2 separate regions of the Homo sapiens genome follow, and region 1 is linked to region 2. The links are contacts of gene promoters, found by promoter capture Hi-C in blood cells and fetal thymus (Javierre and others, 2016). All regions are on one chromosome and are shown on one strand. The core of a region is centred on a gene start or on the middle of the fragment in contact, and the rest is flanking DNA. Distances in the headings are between cores, read along the strand shown. Region 1 holds the start of GTF2B (general transcription factor IIB). Region 2 holds the start of ZNF326 (zinc finger protein 326).

Region 1 (7,375 bases), core at 1,175-3,674, 1.1 Mb after region 2:
ATTATGTTGATTAAAATGCTTTGTAAATTTCCAGTGCTGTACTAACAAAAGAAAACGAATGGCTTACCTAAGGTGCCTTCTATTTTAATACAAAAGAAATTCTTACAAGTTTATGACAGACAAGAGACTCTCCAGGTGGGGCAGGAGTTAATTTAACCAGTAGTGCTGCCTCCCTTTTCTAGGGTTTCAATTTCTTCCTTCAACAAACATTATTGAATGCCTACCATGAATCCACTAGGTGCAGGTCCATGTTCTGGATCCTTAAGAGATGCACAGTTGTCTTATTCCTCCTCTTCCTCCAAGTTAAGATGCTTTACTATGAAACCTCTACTGGACTGAGGTGCAGCACCCCCAAGCCCTTTCCTGGTTGCACTTGACAAAAATATTGAGGGAGGAAAAAACCCCCACAAGAGTACAGTCAAGTTTTTAAAATTACAGAATTACAAAATAGAAGATTGGGATTGGGAAAGAAAAAAGAAATCATGCTCCCCGGTTCCCACCTAGATTTGAGTTCCTAAAATCCTGCCTCTCGCACCCCTTTTTCTTTCTAAGGAAGCTAGTATCTCCCACCTTCTCAAGAAAACAGTGAGTGCTCCATTACATTTAAATCCCATCCCCAGATGAAGGAAGCAGTCATTATCTTCTAAGTTCTCAGCCCCATGAAAACCACCATGAAAATACCAATCCCCGTATTTTCAAGAATAGTTGTCAGCAAAGTGTTGCCGCAGGAGAATACTGTCTGAAGGCAGGGAACCTAAGGCAGATTCACACTGATTTCCTAGAACTAAATCAAATGGAAAACCCCGGCCGGGCGCGGTGGCTCACGCCTGTAATCCCAGCACTTTGGGAGGCCAAGGCGGGCGGATGACGAGGTCAGGAGATCAAGACCATCCTGGCTAACAGGGTGAAACCCCGTCTCTACTAAAAATACAAAAACAAAATTAGCCGGGCGTGGTGGCAGGCTCCTGTAGTCCCAGCTACTCGGGAGGCTGAGGCAGGAGAATGGCGTGAACCTGGCAGGCGGAGCTTGCAGTGAGCCCAGATCGCGCCACTGCACTCCAGCCTGGGCGACAGAGCAAGACTCCGTCTCAAAAAAAAAAAAAAAAAAGGAAAACCCCAACTTTCCACACCTAAGTAACAAAAGAACCAGACGTTACTCCCTTTGCAACCCCCTCCCCACTACACAACCACACACACACACACACACACACACACACACACTTTAGCCGTGTGGCAGATGTGAAATTGAAAGTATCTCTGATTCGTTGCTTTCTGCAACCAATCAGACGCTTGCATAGGAGTGTAACTTTGTAACTTCACTTTAGCCTCTGATTGGTTGCTTTCCACAACCAATCAGACTGATTGTGGAGCCACTACTTCATTTACATAGGGTGTACACCATGTAACCAATGGGAAACCTCTAGAGGGTATTTAAACCCCCGAAAATTCTGCAAAAGGAGTCTTGAGCTGGTATTACCTTTTCGTTTTCAATAAATCTCTGCCTTTATTCCTTCATTCTTTCCTTAGTTTGTGCGTTGTGTCCAGTTCTTTGTTCAAAACGCCAAGAACGTGAATACTCTCCACCGGTAACTGTTATTGTTGTTAGTAATAGTGGTATTACAATTTTGACGTTAGTTTGGCTAATTAATAAATCTAGGGATATTTTGCAATATCTAGATGTTCTCGCAAGTTTTCTATATGTAGCTATCAGCCAACGTTACAAAGGCCGTGAAAAAAAAATGATCAGAGCATGGCCCATATCGTCGTGCCTCTTGTGTACACATTGGTTTCACGTAGTTTTGTTTCATCTTCTGCCAATTCTAAAAGGGTATGCAAGGCAAGATACCATAACCTATATAAACTTACATGACCTGTATAAAGGACGTGCCTAAGAAGACAACATGCTAGCTGATGACAGATCCTGAACAGACACCTGTTCTGGATGACCTAAGTGAGTTTCTCCTTTTATTTCAAATTTCTTAGAAAGAATCACCCTTGGGGCACGTAAGAACTGGCTCAAATGGGAGTGCCTGACGCGGGGTGGGGGGCTGGGGGCGGGGTAGGTGGTGGCCGTGAGAAGGTAGCCGTGAGAAGGTGGGAGAGGAAGGGGTGGTTAAACTATTAGGGATGCAGGCTTTGGCACCACTACGAAGCCAGGGTTTTCTTTGTGTTTTAACTGTCAGATTGAGAGTAGCTCTGTTGTAGCCCCTTTGCAGGGTTCCCATGAGACTTTTCCTAGGTAGTTACGTTGACTCGCTTAGCAACATAGCAAATTACAGAAACGGAGTAAGAACGTAAGAAATCGCAAAGCACGTGACGTATGGGATCTCACTGTTCTTGGCCCTTCTCCCGACCCGTAGCCCTGCTCTGCTACGACTGCGTGGGTGAGTCGTCTATAAAAACTCATCTCTGCGCGTCTCTTCGCCACATTCGCTTCCTGCTTTCGGTGTGTCTGTTGTGTCTTGTTGCGGGCACCGCAGTCGCCGTGAAGATGGCGTCTACCAGCCGGTTAGTATGTCCCGCCGAGCCCGGCGAGCTGAGGGGCGGGCGCGAGCGCCGCCGGCTTTTAGGCGGCCTCCGGGCAGCCTCGTAGGGCTGAGCGCCTAGGGGTATGGGAGAGAAGCGGCGGGACTGGCCGACGGGCCGGGACAAAGGCACTTCCAGACGGCAGGACTGTCAGGGTGTCGCAGGGGTTACCGAGCTGTTGACGTTATTGCCCTGGAGTCTTATGTAGATATCACCCTATGTGGGTCCTGGTGGGCTACTGTGTCCCCAGTCCTTGCCCTCGTATCTTTTCCCAATATTTCAATCTCCCTTTATTTTCTCTTCTTCCCACCCTCCCTCCTCTCCTCCCCCGCGCCCCCCCCCCCGCTTGTTTTTTTCATCTACGGCCCAAACAACCCGAGGGTCCGTAATTTCTCCTTTTCAAAGGAACGGGAAACAGTTAGTTTCAGGTTCCTATCGATCTGACAGCTAGGAAGTTGGGAACGTCAGCATTGGTAAGCCAGATGGAACCTGGTTGGTTACCATCACAGCGGGCCTCGGAAGTGGAAGCTAGAGCCATCGGAAGAGTTGATTAGTTCCCTGCTAAAGGATTTGTTTACAAATATCGTTGCCTGTGTACTTCTGAAGAAAATCTTGCCAAAGAAAATTAGTTATATGTGCTGGGAGGTCGCTTTTTAGTATATATTTAAGAATGCAGTGTACTCATATCTACAGGAAATGCATGCAGTACCCTCAGAAACAGCCTTTAATCTTGTGACCTGAAAAATGCTTGCAGACCCTAATTATGTCTCTCATTACCACTGTGAGGTAGATATTAGTATTTTTGCATAAGTGTAAACTGAGTCATGCCAATGTTGACTTTTCCAAGAGTCGTGTTAGAGTGTAGAGTCTAAGACAACCTGTTTCCTGTTATCCACACCTGGCCTTTGGTTAACTAATCCTGTGTTGAAAGTATCAAATTAATTCTACAGCTTCTGGAACTCTGGCACTATTTTTCTGACCCTGCTATCATCTGTGGAATTGGTTAATTTCACAGTGAAAGCCATTTTTACAAAATAGCCTTTTCTGGTAACTGCCAAGACTTACATTTTATGATTAGAAAAGGAATTTGGGGTGGGAGGCAGCTTTAGCTAATATACTGTTTGAACAGAACTCATAAAGCCAGTGACACTCTTGTTTACTGATTCTGATTCTTGGATTGGATGCTCAGTCATTCTATCTGGGTGTTGTTCTGTCGGGTAAGGCCTCCTTGTAGGTAAATGGAAAACTTGGGCTCCCCAGATCACTCAAATACGACTTAAAATTCTACCATGGCTTTTTTTTTTTTTAATTCTATCATGGCTTTTTAAGTCTGAAATTTTTTTCTAGATATGTGCAATTTATGTATCATAGCAGTTATTGCTCAAGTTTTTCTATCAGTGACAACAAAGAAAGTTAAATGCAGTATTTTTTATTTTATGGAACAGGCCTGGGCTGAAGTGTAGGTGGCACGATCATGGCTCACTGCAGCCATGACCTCCCCAGTTCAAGTGATCCTCCCACCTCAGCCTTCTGAGTAGCTGGGACCATAGGTACACACCACGTGCCTGGCTAATTTTTTTATTTTTAAATTTTATTAATTTTTATTTTTGTGGAGACAAGGCCTAGTTACATTGCCCAGGCTGGTCCTGAACTCCTGGGTCCAAGCAGTCCTCCGGCTTTGGCCTACCAAAGTGCTGTGGTAACAGGCATGAGCCACTGCGCCCAGCCTAAATATAATATTTCTACCTTTTGCATGTTTTTCCCTCAGGAAGGTGTATTGTCACTAGGCCATGAAACTGGCTGGTGTCCTCACAGAGGAGTACAAATGTTCTGAGTTCAAATGTAAGCTCCGCCACTTATTAGTTCCATGACTTCAGGCAAATCATTCTCTGAGCATAATTTTTTAAATGTGAAATAGTGCCTTTCTTGCAGGATTGTTGTGGAGATTGACAATAATAAATGTATAACACAAGTAATACAGTCCATGCCCAATAAATGATAGCTATAAAATGGGGTTTGGGATTATCTGGTACTTGAGTAGTCTCGAATCGTTTTAATGTCAGTGGTGGTGGTTTCTCTATTCCTCCCTATTGTTTCTCTCTGTTACCACCTTCACCACCCCATTTGTATGGTTCCTCTTCTGTATTGTGGGTAATTTGATTAAGTTTACTAATTTAGCATACTTTTATTTTGATAGGTAACACATACAAATGGTCCAAAAGCAAAATTGCAATAGACTAAAACCATGAAAAGTAGTCTTCCTCCTTTCCTAGCTCCCAGCCATCTAAGTCTCCCTGGATCAGCCATAATTACTAGTCTCTTGGTGTTTTCCTAGTGTTTATGCTTTAACAAATGTATAGGAATAGTTCTAACCTCTCTTCCCCCACGAAAGTGACCTAATTTAAACTCCATTCACTACCTTGCTTTTACCTTTTTTTAATGAAGTTAGCACATTTTAAAAGTGGGCAGCTCAGTTACAAAGTGAGCACATACATATAGCTCCTACCCAGGTAAGGAAATCAGATACCACTAGCACTAGCTAAGACACTAGCAAAGTCTCTGTCCTCAGTCATTCCCCCTCCTTTGAGAAAACCACATCCTGATTTCTAACTCCATCAATTCATTTGGCCTGCTTTAAAGTTGTCATAAATGGCATATGTATTCTGCTGTCTAGATTCTGTTAGTATTTTGAGGTTCATCCATGTTATGGTGTATGGTTAGTTCATACTTTTCAGCTTTGTATAGGTTTTCTACCTTATTCTTCACTCTTCATATCTTTGAGATGTTTCTGTATCATTACACAAACTATAGTTTTCTATCTACTTTTTAATACTGCAGAGATATTAGTTCTTAGCACGTGTTGCACATGGCCTCCTCTTTTACTAATTTGTAATTACTGTTACTCTGCTAACATTTTCCTTTATTTCAACATGGTTTTTCATAATTTATATCAACTGTTTAATTTTATTTGTCATAATTTATTAAAATACTTTCCTTAGAGGAATTTATGGAATAAACACAAATATGAAGTAATACTCATCCCCCCGTGTTCCCAATGAGAAGATTCAAGACATATTCTAGTTAAGCTGACTAGATAAGTTTAGGGGGGAATATGGATTATTTTATCAGTTTTCCCGTAGATATCACCTTCTGAGTTGAGAGTTAACATTCTGAATTGTATTTGCTAGCATGAGAAACTTTACCCCAAACCACAAATACTATTTACATACTATAAGAACAGTTGATTTTGTCTTTTACGTGTATCTGATGTCCATAACCTAACCATTTATTGTATTTCAGATGGTTTTTAAAAGGGCCTTATTTGCAGTGATACCAAGAATTTATGATTGTGAGGTCATACCCCCTGAAATAATGATCAAATCTTTGTTGCTTTTACAGCTGATTCTGTCAGATCATTTAAGATTAATGTGTCAAAAAAAGATGAATGTGTCTTCTGCAAACTGCTTTGTTGTTCAAAATAAATTGAGCTAATTATTAATATCACAGATAACAAGTAGCTTTTGAAACAATTTCTTGAATGATAAATTCAATAACTCAATTCTGGACTAAAGGAAATCATCAAGTCTTAAGTTCAGCAGAGCAACTTCTACCATCCCTCATTTCTATACTTACTGGGTTCAGTGTACTATTTAAATCTGTTACTAAAGTAGTTAACAAGTAGAAAAATACAGAGAGAAATTGTTCTCTGACTAGAGAAATAAGTGGCAAAGAGCACAAACTGGATGGTAATGTAAATGCTGCAGGTTATTACGGTAACTAGTCATTACTATACTAATCAACATTTCTAAAAGTCTTACTGGCATACATATTGAGAGAAGAAACAATTATTTTCTATTTATGTTTTGAAAGCCTTCCACAATAAAATAAGAATTCCAGTGGAAACTACTTGCCAGTTACTAGCTGGAATTTAAAATAACCTAACTGGGATGTTTACTTTGAAAATCTAGCTTATATGTGTTACAGTTGTATGTATGAAAAAACGTTCACAATCTTTGTCTTCCCCATCCCCCATCCCAGAAGATTAATTTGATACATGTTGGTTGGGAAGATGTAAAAATACAACTTTTTTCTTTTAGTTTGGATGCTCTTCCAAGAGTCACATGTCCAAACCATCCAGATGCGATTTTAGTGGAGGACTACAGAGCCGGTGATATGATCTGTCCTGAATGTGGCTTGGTTGTAGGTGAGTTGTTATTATGGTTTTAATTTAAATTACTGTTCAGGAGGCCAAGCATGGTGGCTCACGCCTGTAATTCCAGCACTTCGGGAGGCCAAGGTGGGAGGATCACCTGAGGTCAGGAGTTCGAGACCAGCCTGACCAACATGAAGAAACCCCATCTCTACTGAAAATACAAAAACTAGCCGGGCGTAGTGGTGGGCACCTGTAATCCCAACTGCCCAGGAGGCTGAGGTAGGAGAATGGCTTGAACCCAGGAGGCGGAGGTTGCAGTGAGCCGAGATCGTGCCACTGCACTCTAGCCCGAGCAACAGAGCAAGACTCCGTCTCAAAAAAAAAATAATAATAATAATAATGTTTAGGGTCCTTCACTTTTGCATAGTTTCCAAACTATCATTTAATGAACACATTTTTGACTTTCTTCCCCAACAAATAATTTATTGCAAAAAAACAATTAGGAAACAGAAACGAGTAAACTTATTCAGAGATATATTTTATTGTATATCCAAATGTATATTTTTATAATGTGGGGTGGGAGCTAATCCAGAAGAAACGAAAAGGCCCCAGTAATTTCATAAGTCCTTAGTCTGAAATATTTGGTAGAGGACTGGAGAGATGGGCTGACACTCATGCATATTAAATAATGAATAC
Region 2 (7,006 bases), core at 3,869-6,368:
TTGGCTTTTTGGTACCTACACACTGTTTATTTCTTAAAGCCCGTAAGTCTTCTTCTAAATGGCTTCATGGCTTGCATACTCACTCATCTTAAATCTATGCTCAAATGTCATCTTTTTGGTGAGTCTTTCCCCAGAGACTCTAAAATTGCAACACATACAAGCACACACACACATTTATCCTCCTTCTCTATGTTACTCTCCCTCGCAATGATCATCATCTAACATACAATAAATATTACTCCCTTTTTCCCCTGTGGACTAAATTATGACATATATATTATTTCTTATCTTGTTTACTATTTCATCCCACTAGACGGAAAGCCTCACAAAGGCAGGAATATTTGTCCATTTTGTTCACTGCTATATTCCCACCTCCTAGAACGATATCTGATGCCCAGCAGGCACTAAATAAATATTTGCTGAACAAAGTCAAATTGAATCCCTGAAATTAAGTTCCTCATTTGTAAAATATAGATAATCTAGACCTAGAAGTACTGTCAAGCATTGGTCTTTAATCAGAGGTGCCTTCCAAAATCATTCAGAGTAGTTTTGCACAACATACACAGCCAAAGACCACTTGCCCTGAAATTAAGATTCAAGAGGTATAGGCTATGTGTGAAAAGAGAGACTTTGAAAAAGCTCCCCAAGAGATTCCAACAATCACCCTCAGATGAGAACCAGTTATAACTAAAATTAAGAGAAAAAATAAAAGTCATATTAGATCTTTTTGCAACACTGTATACTAATTAATAAATAAACATCTGGCCCTGCATGAGTCTGCATTTCAAGTCCTATGTTTAGACATTAAATCCAACTATCCAGTAAATCCTAGATGGCCTTTTATCATTACAAACTCTCTCCCTCTCCCCCTCCCTCTTCCCCTCCCCCTCTCCCTTGTAAAAGCACTAGTCATACATTCCAGTTTAAAATCCTGGATTCATTTTTATTCAACCCTCTCAATTTTCTACCCATTACTAGTCAGCCTGCAAGTTCTGCTAATTTGCTCTTTATTTTTAAGATTACTACTACTATCACCTCCCAAGTTCAAGGCCTTAAAATCTTTATATCAAAACTTATGAAATGGCTTTCTCGTTAATTTTCCAGTTTTCAATATAACTTACATGTGGATGCAAATTAAACTTCCTTTGGTAATTTTCAATTTCCAGCTCACAAATACATTCTTCAGTACTAACTCCCTATATGTTAAGCCTTTTTAGCCCACATGAAATCCAAAGTTTATCTTAATCTTTAAAGATAATGAAATAAAAATTAACTGTTCAGTAATTATTCCCATAAATGGCATAGTCTTTAGTATACATTTGCTTCAGTTTTACTTTGTGAATATATTCTATTCTGTACGAAAGTTGGATTTTACATTTCTCTGGCAATCATGATATTTAATGCCTCAAGTCCTTCATATGTTTTTTAACCTGCATTAATTGTTCTGTGTTCTTTTTTTGTATTATTATCTTGTGTGGCAGGGCCCTAACTCTAATAACTATCAAAATGACATCCAATTGTATTCTACATACCTCTCATGATTCTATCTAGTTCTATAGTCACAAGTCTAATGTCATGCTCATGTCAATAAACAATCAAGCTTCTTCATGTGCTCCTCTAGACAGCTCTTTATATACTAACACATTTGGACACACTGAAGAAAATGACCTCAAAAACAAGGTCAAAATGCATTACAATACAAGCTATATAGAACCAAGCCAATAATCCACTTAGTCTACATTACTCAATACCAAAGCCTCTAATTCAACCAAAATAACTCAGCCAGTGTCTTGTGATTCATCACTCAGAATGTAGTTAGGCCCTTTGGAACACATTAAAATAATCATAATTCAAACAAAATGGACCAAAAAAAAAATCAAACTAATGTGAATAACCCCTAACATTTTCTGATAGCACATTCCCCAATTCAAATACTATATATAGTAAGACAATATTAACACATAAATGATATATCAAGAACCAAAACAAGGACTGAAATAGGTAGAACTGGCCTTTTACATTGATACTATATTTTTATGCGCATGAAGAGAAAAGCTGAAAGAGGATACTTACCATTAAAGCCCTGATAAGTATTCCTGCAGGCGGAGTGTGTGTAATCTATGAAGACACATTTAACAAAAAGGAATTAGTGTGATATTAGCAATAATTCAAAATTATATGCCGATCCAGTAAAAAACAAGCACAATTTTTAAAATGACATTAACCCAATTATCTGCAAAACTGAGAATAGTTAAAACAAATAATTACCAATACTCCATTCCAGAAAATGTATCTCTTTTTTCTTCACTATCTCCCCAAATGGTAGGTTTATTATCCAAATTATGGTAAACATTAGTTTACAACACCTGATACATAATAACAGCCAAAAGAGGGGATTCAGCACTGATTTGTACCAAGTAACACAAAGGCAGATAGATTAAATTATGTATCAAATAATGCAAAAGCAAAGACATCTGAGAATTGTACGTAACATGAAATTTTTGCTAAGTTAATTTCTTTTACCATTTAATTTGCTCTTTAAAGATTTCAAGATCTTGGCCGGGCACGGTGGCTCACGCCTGTAATCCCAGCACTTGGGAAGGTGAGGTGGGCGGGTCACGAGGTCAGGAGTTCGAGACCAGCCCGTCCAATATGGTGAAACCCTTTCTCTACTGGAAATATAAAAATTAGCCGGGCCTGGTGGTGCGTGCCTGTAGTCCCAGCTACTAGGGAGGCTGAGGCAGAAGAATCACTTGAATCCAGGAGGCAGAGGCTGCAGTGAGCCAAGACTGCACCACTGCACTCCAGCCTGGGCGACAGAACGAGACTCTGTCTCAAAAAAAAAAAGATTTCAAGATCTTATCTGAGACATGCATATGCATATACATATATGACTGTGTTCTATATTCAAGCAGAATGTGTCATCACTGAAAACCATATTGCCAATTTCCTCATCAAAACTAATTTAACAACTGTTAAATTCTTTAGTTAATTTTACAAATATATACTGAAAGAACAGAATTTAATATAGTGGTCATCTGGATACAACAGAATCCTGCTACACTATACAGGAATAGATTCATATATGGTGTTAGTCAAACTCCATCTTCCAAATACAGCAGTGGTATATTTGGGCAGTGAGACAGGGCGTATTTCATCACTAATATTGTTTAGAATTTCTATCACTGACACTGTTTAGAATTCTGGCATATGGCAATAACAGAAAGCAGACATACTACATTTTATTATTGTTTTTCAATTCTCCATAGAAATGGATTCCCTTATTGCCTTGGGTGGGGAGTGGAAAGAACTGTTTCTACTGCCCCACCTCCACTTTGTTAGCCTCTGCTATACCTTGGGTGTTGGCATTATCATCAAACTACAGCATGAAAATACAATAATATATTTTTTATTTTCACTCCCAACTCTGGCCACTTCAAATATTCATAGTTTTTTGTTTTGTTGTTGGTTTTTTGTTTTTTTTTTTTCAGACGAAGTTTGGCTCTTGTTGCCCAGGCTAGAGTGCAATGGCACGATCTCGGCTCACTGCAACCTTCGCCTCCCGGGTTCAAGGGATTCTTCTGCCTCCGCCTCCCAAAGTGCTGAGATTACAGGTGTGAGCCATCGTGCCCAGCCCAAATATTCATAGTTTAAAGGTATCTACATCAAAATGAGTTAAAGTCCAACCAAAACAAACAAAACCACGAGAGTGTGCTACTCTTAAGAGCTGAACTTACTATTTCAAAGTAACTGAAAAGTATCTACAAGAGGGCTATTCCAGTCCCCTTTCACAAATCTGTACCTAGATATGAAAGCTTTAATTCTTTGTTGCATGAAATGTTATGAAAAATCAAAAGCTCATCGAGTAAGACATATGCTGAGATCACACCTCATTTAAAGATCATTTTTTTGGTGGGGTTAAAAGTTTACAGCCTACTTAGTGAACTGGTTTTACTTAAGCATGCCTGGTTACTCAGGATTAAATCCAGTTTAATCACATAAGTCCTTTCCCATGTCTCCCTAATGTTGTCACTACATACCACTTTATCTTGACACCAATTCCAAGCAAGGTTTGAAAACAAAAGTGAAGACCAAATTAATATTACTTTGTGACCCTGTAAAAGTGGTTTAAAGAATTAGTATCTGAGACAACTGAAAAGTATTGCTAAAATACAGTTTATTTAATCCGTAAGTCAAACACTTACAAGGCTGTGTACAGGTCTAAATGTGAAGGACATTTGATGCTTGCTGTGCCAAAATTCTGATTAACTTAAATCCTACCTACACACGATCCAAAGAAAAGTGCTTTGGTTCACATAAATATTTCAAGTTAGGGATTAATAAGCAGGTAATTTTTGGTGATAAACACCCCAGTTTACTAACCAGGAAACATCTTGCTTTCCATTTTGCATAGATATTTATCTATACATATCACTTACAGACACCCTTTCAACTCATCTTAAACCGGGACAAACAGAAACATCACTGTGAACAAGCCTCTGAAAATTCTATCTGGCAAGAAGTAACCCGAGGCTGAGGATTAACTAAACGGACGGTCTGGGTCGCTGCCCTGTGGGGCGAATGCGAGACTAGGTGGGTGAGGCCGCACTCGCCCGTTTGCCCGAGACCGGGAAGTTGGAGACGTCGGGGCAATTTCCACTACCAGGGGCCAAGGCGAGTCTGGGGCTCCAGCCCGGAGGCTCTCGCGCTCTAGGCGCGTCCTACCGGACACCGAGTTCTCTTGTCTCCGCCGGCAGCGGGCGCCGAGCGGGCCGAATCGGGGCGCGTGGGTCCCCAAAGAGGCCGACTCCGGGCGCTGGGCCCGGGGCGGGCGGGCGGCCTCCGGGCCCGCAGAACAAAGCCCACACGGCCATCTTGAGACGGTAAACAGACCCCCTGCGTAGGCCACCCCGCCTCCTGCCAGCTGCGCCGACCAGCCAGAGGCAGCGCTTACCGTCCTCGAAGTCCATGGCAGAGGCTGAGGGCCGTCGGCCTTGGCGGCGCTAGGCTGAGCTATGGCCGGCGGCGAGCGTCCGCGACCCGCGATTCCACACGATCACTCCGCGCGACCGAGAGCGGCGCGCTACCAGCCCGGGAGCCGCAGGCCACAGCGAGGCTGGGGAGGCGGGGCCGACCGGCGCTACCAGCCCCATCGGCGCGGCCTGCTATTGGCTGACGCGGGCTGGTGGGCGGGCCCTCGCGTGGGGGGCGGGAAGCAGGTCCGCTGTCACGCTCGGAGGTGCTGACCCTCTGGAGCCGCTGACGGGGAAGGAAGGTAAAAAAGGAGCGCTAAAGATTGGCGGGGGTTGTGGGAAAGCAAGCCGAGTGTACGGGAAGGGCCGGCTGCGGCCCGCCATGTTTGAACCTGGCAAGAGCGAAAGAAGCCGGTTGGAATGCCTTCTTCCTGCCCAAACTAATAAAACCGCATGCCTACCTTTTGCTTAGTATTGGCTAGGGATGACTAATCATAACATTTGTAAGTACTTACGGGGTTTCCTCCATGGAGACACAGAAGTCTGGGACGTTTCTAGAAGCCTGTGGCAAATTTGAAAAGCAAGATACAAAATAGCGTATGGAGTCTGATTATCGCTATGTCAATAAATTTTCTTAAAGGACAAAGCACTGAAATAAAATGGAAATAATAATTCTTTTAAAAAATTTTTAAATTATTTTTATAGAGATGGGGGTTTTGCCATGTTGCCCAAGCAGGTCTCCAACTCCTGGACTCAAGCGATCCCCCCACCCCCAGCCCCGTCTCCGCCTCCCAAAGTGTTAGGATCACAGGCGTGAGCCAATGCGACCCGCCTGGAAAGAATTCTAAAACATGGCCTGCTTGGCCACCGCCCAGGATCTGCAAGCTGCGCGCCCACAAGTTTCGGCACCCATTTGGACTTTCACAATCGGAGATGGCAGTGGTGAAGGCATCAACATCAAAAGCTACCAGGCCTTGGTATTCTCATCCAGTATATGCAAGATACTGGCAACATTATCATCAAGCAATGGCTTGGATGCAAAGCCACCACAATGCCTACAGGAAGGCGGTGGAATCCTGTTTCAGTCTTCCATGGTTCTTCCTTCCTGCGCTTCTTCCCCAAAGCTCTTACGATAACCAGGCTGCGTATCCTCAGTCCTTCTATGACCATCATGTGGCCTAGCAGGACTCCCCCTGCAGTTCTTCACATTTCAGAGGGTCTGGGCAACATCCACATGGCAGCAGTAGGATCCAGGCATCCACAAGAGAAGACCAAGCCTTATCCAAGGAGGAAGAGATGGAGACCGAGTCAGATGCAGAGGTAGCATGTGACCTGAGCAATATGGAAATCACCGAAGAGCTCCGCCAGTACTTTGCAGAGACAGAGAGGCACAGAGAAGAACTACTGCGGCGGCAACAGCTGGATGCGGAGCGCCTGAACAGCTACGTGAACGCTGAACACGACCTGTACTGCAACACCCGCCGGTCGGTAGAGGCCCCAGCTGAGAGGCCTGGTGAGCGGCGCCAGGCCGAAATGAAGCGTTTGTACTGGGACAGCGCCGCCAAGATCCAGGCCATGGAGGCTAACGTGCAGCTGAGCTTTGACAAGCACTGTGATCCAAAGCAGCCTAATTACTGGCCGGTCATCCCCCCGAAGTTCTGAGCTCGGGGCACAGGGCACCCAGCCTCTTCCTCTTCCTTTTGGATACGCGCTCTTCATCTCTCCTTCTGTACATTTCTCAGGGAAAGGGGACTTTGTACTGAGGTACAGGCACGTTCACCACAGTCCCAGTGGGCCTGTCACGGGGTGGATGTACTGTGCCAGCCACTTGGAGGTCGGCAGGACATATTCTGTTGCCAACATGATAAATTTTATCCTGACATAAAATGATAATTTTGTATATATTATACTGGTTTTTTATGTTGTCAGTAACAGTTCAATTCATTAAAGTTCTTGCCTAGAAAAAAAAAAAAGAATTCTAAAACATGAACGATGATTCTTTTTGTGATGACTTTTTATATACACATGATTAT

Evidence for each region. Contacts are between HindIII fragments. The CHiCAGO score rates a contact against its expected background, and 5 or more counts as called.
Region 1: a contact is called between the fragment with the promoter of GTF2B here and the fragment with the promoter of ZNF326 in region 2, in 6 of 17 cell types (total CD4 T cells, naive CD4 T cells, activated CD4 T cells and 3 more). The highest score is 13.6, in total CD4 T cells.

What each region holds. Positions count from the first base shown.
Region 1 is chr1:88,886,616-88,893,990 of GRCh38, reverse strand. It overlaps GTF2B (general transcription factor IIB), which reads left to right and starts at 2,424. Exons shown (of 7, transcript NM_001514.6): 1 at 2,424-2,508; 2 at 6,624-6,730. The coding sequence starts at 2,492. RefSeq lists an enhancer at 2,139-2,248. The HindIII fragment of the contact is 16,776 bases long and covers 1-7,375 here.
Region 2 is chr1:89,993,222-90,000,227 of GRCh38, reverse strand. ZNF326 (zinc finger protein 326) reads right to left here and starts at 5,118. Exons shown (of 12, transcript NM_182976.4): 1 at 4,955-5,118; 2 at 2,074-2,118. The coding sequence starts at 4,970. It also overlaps the pseudogene GEMIN8P4. RefSeq lists enhancers at 4,403-4,452, 4,334-4,899, 4,900-5,466 and a silencer at 4,673-5,312. The HindIII fragment of the contact is 7,808 bases long and covers 3,818-7,006 here.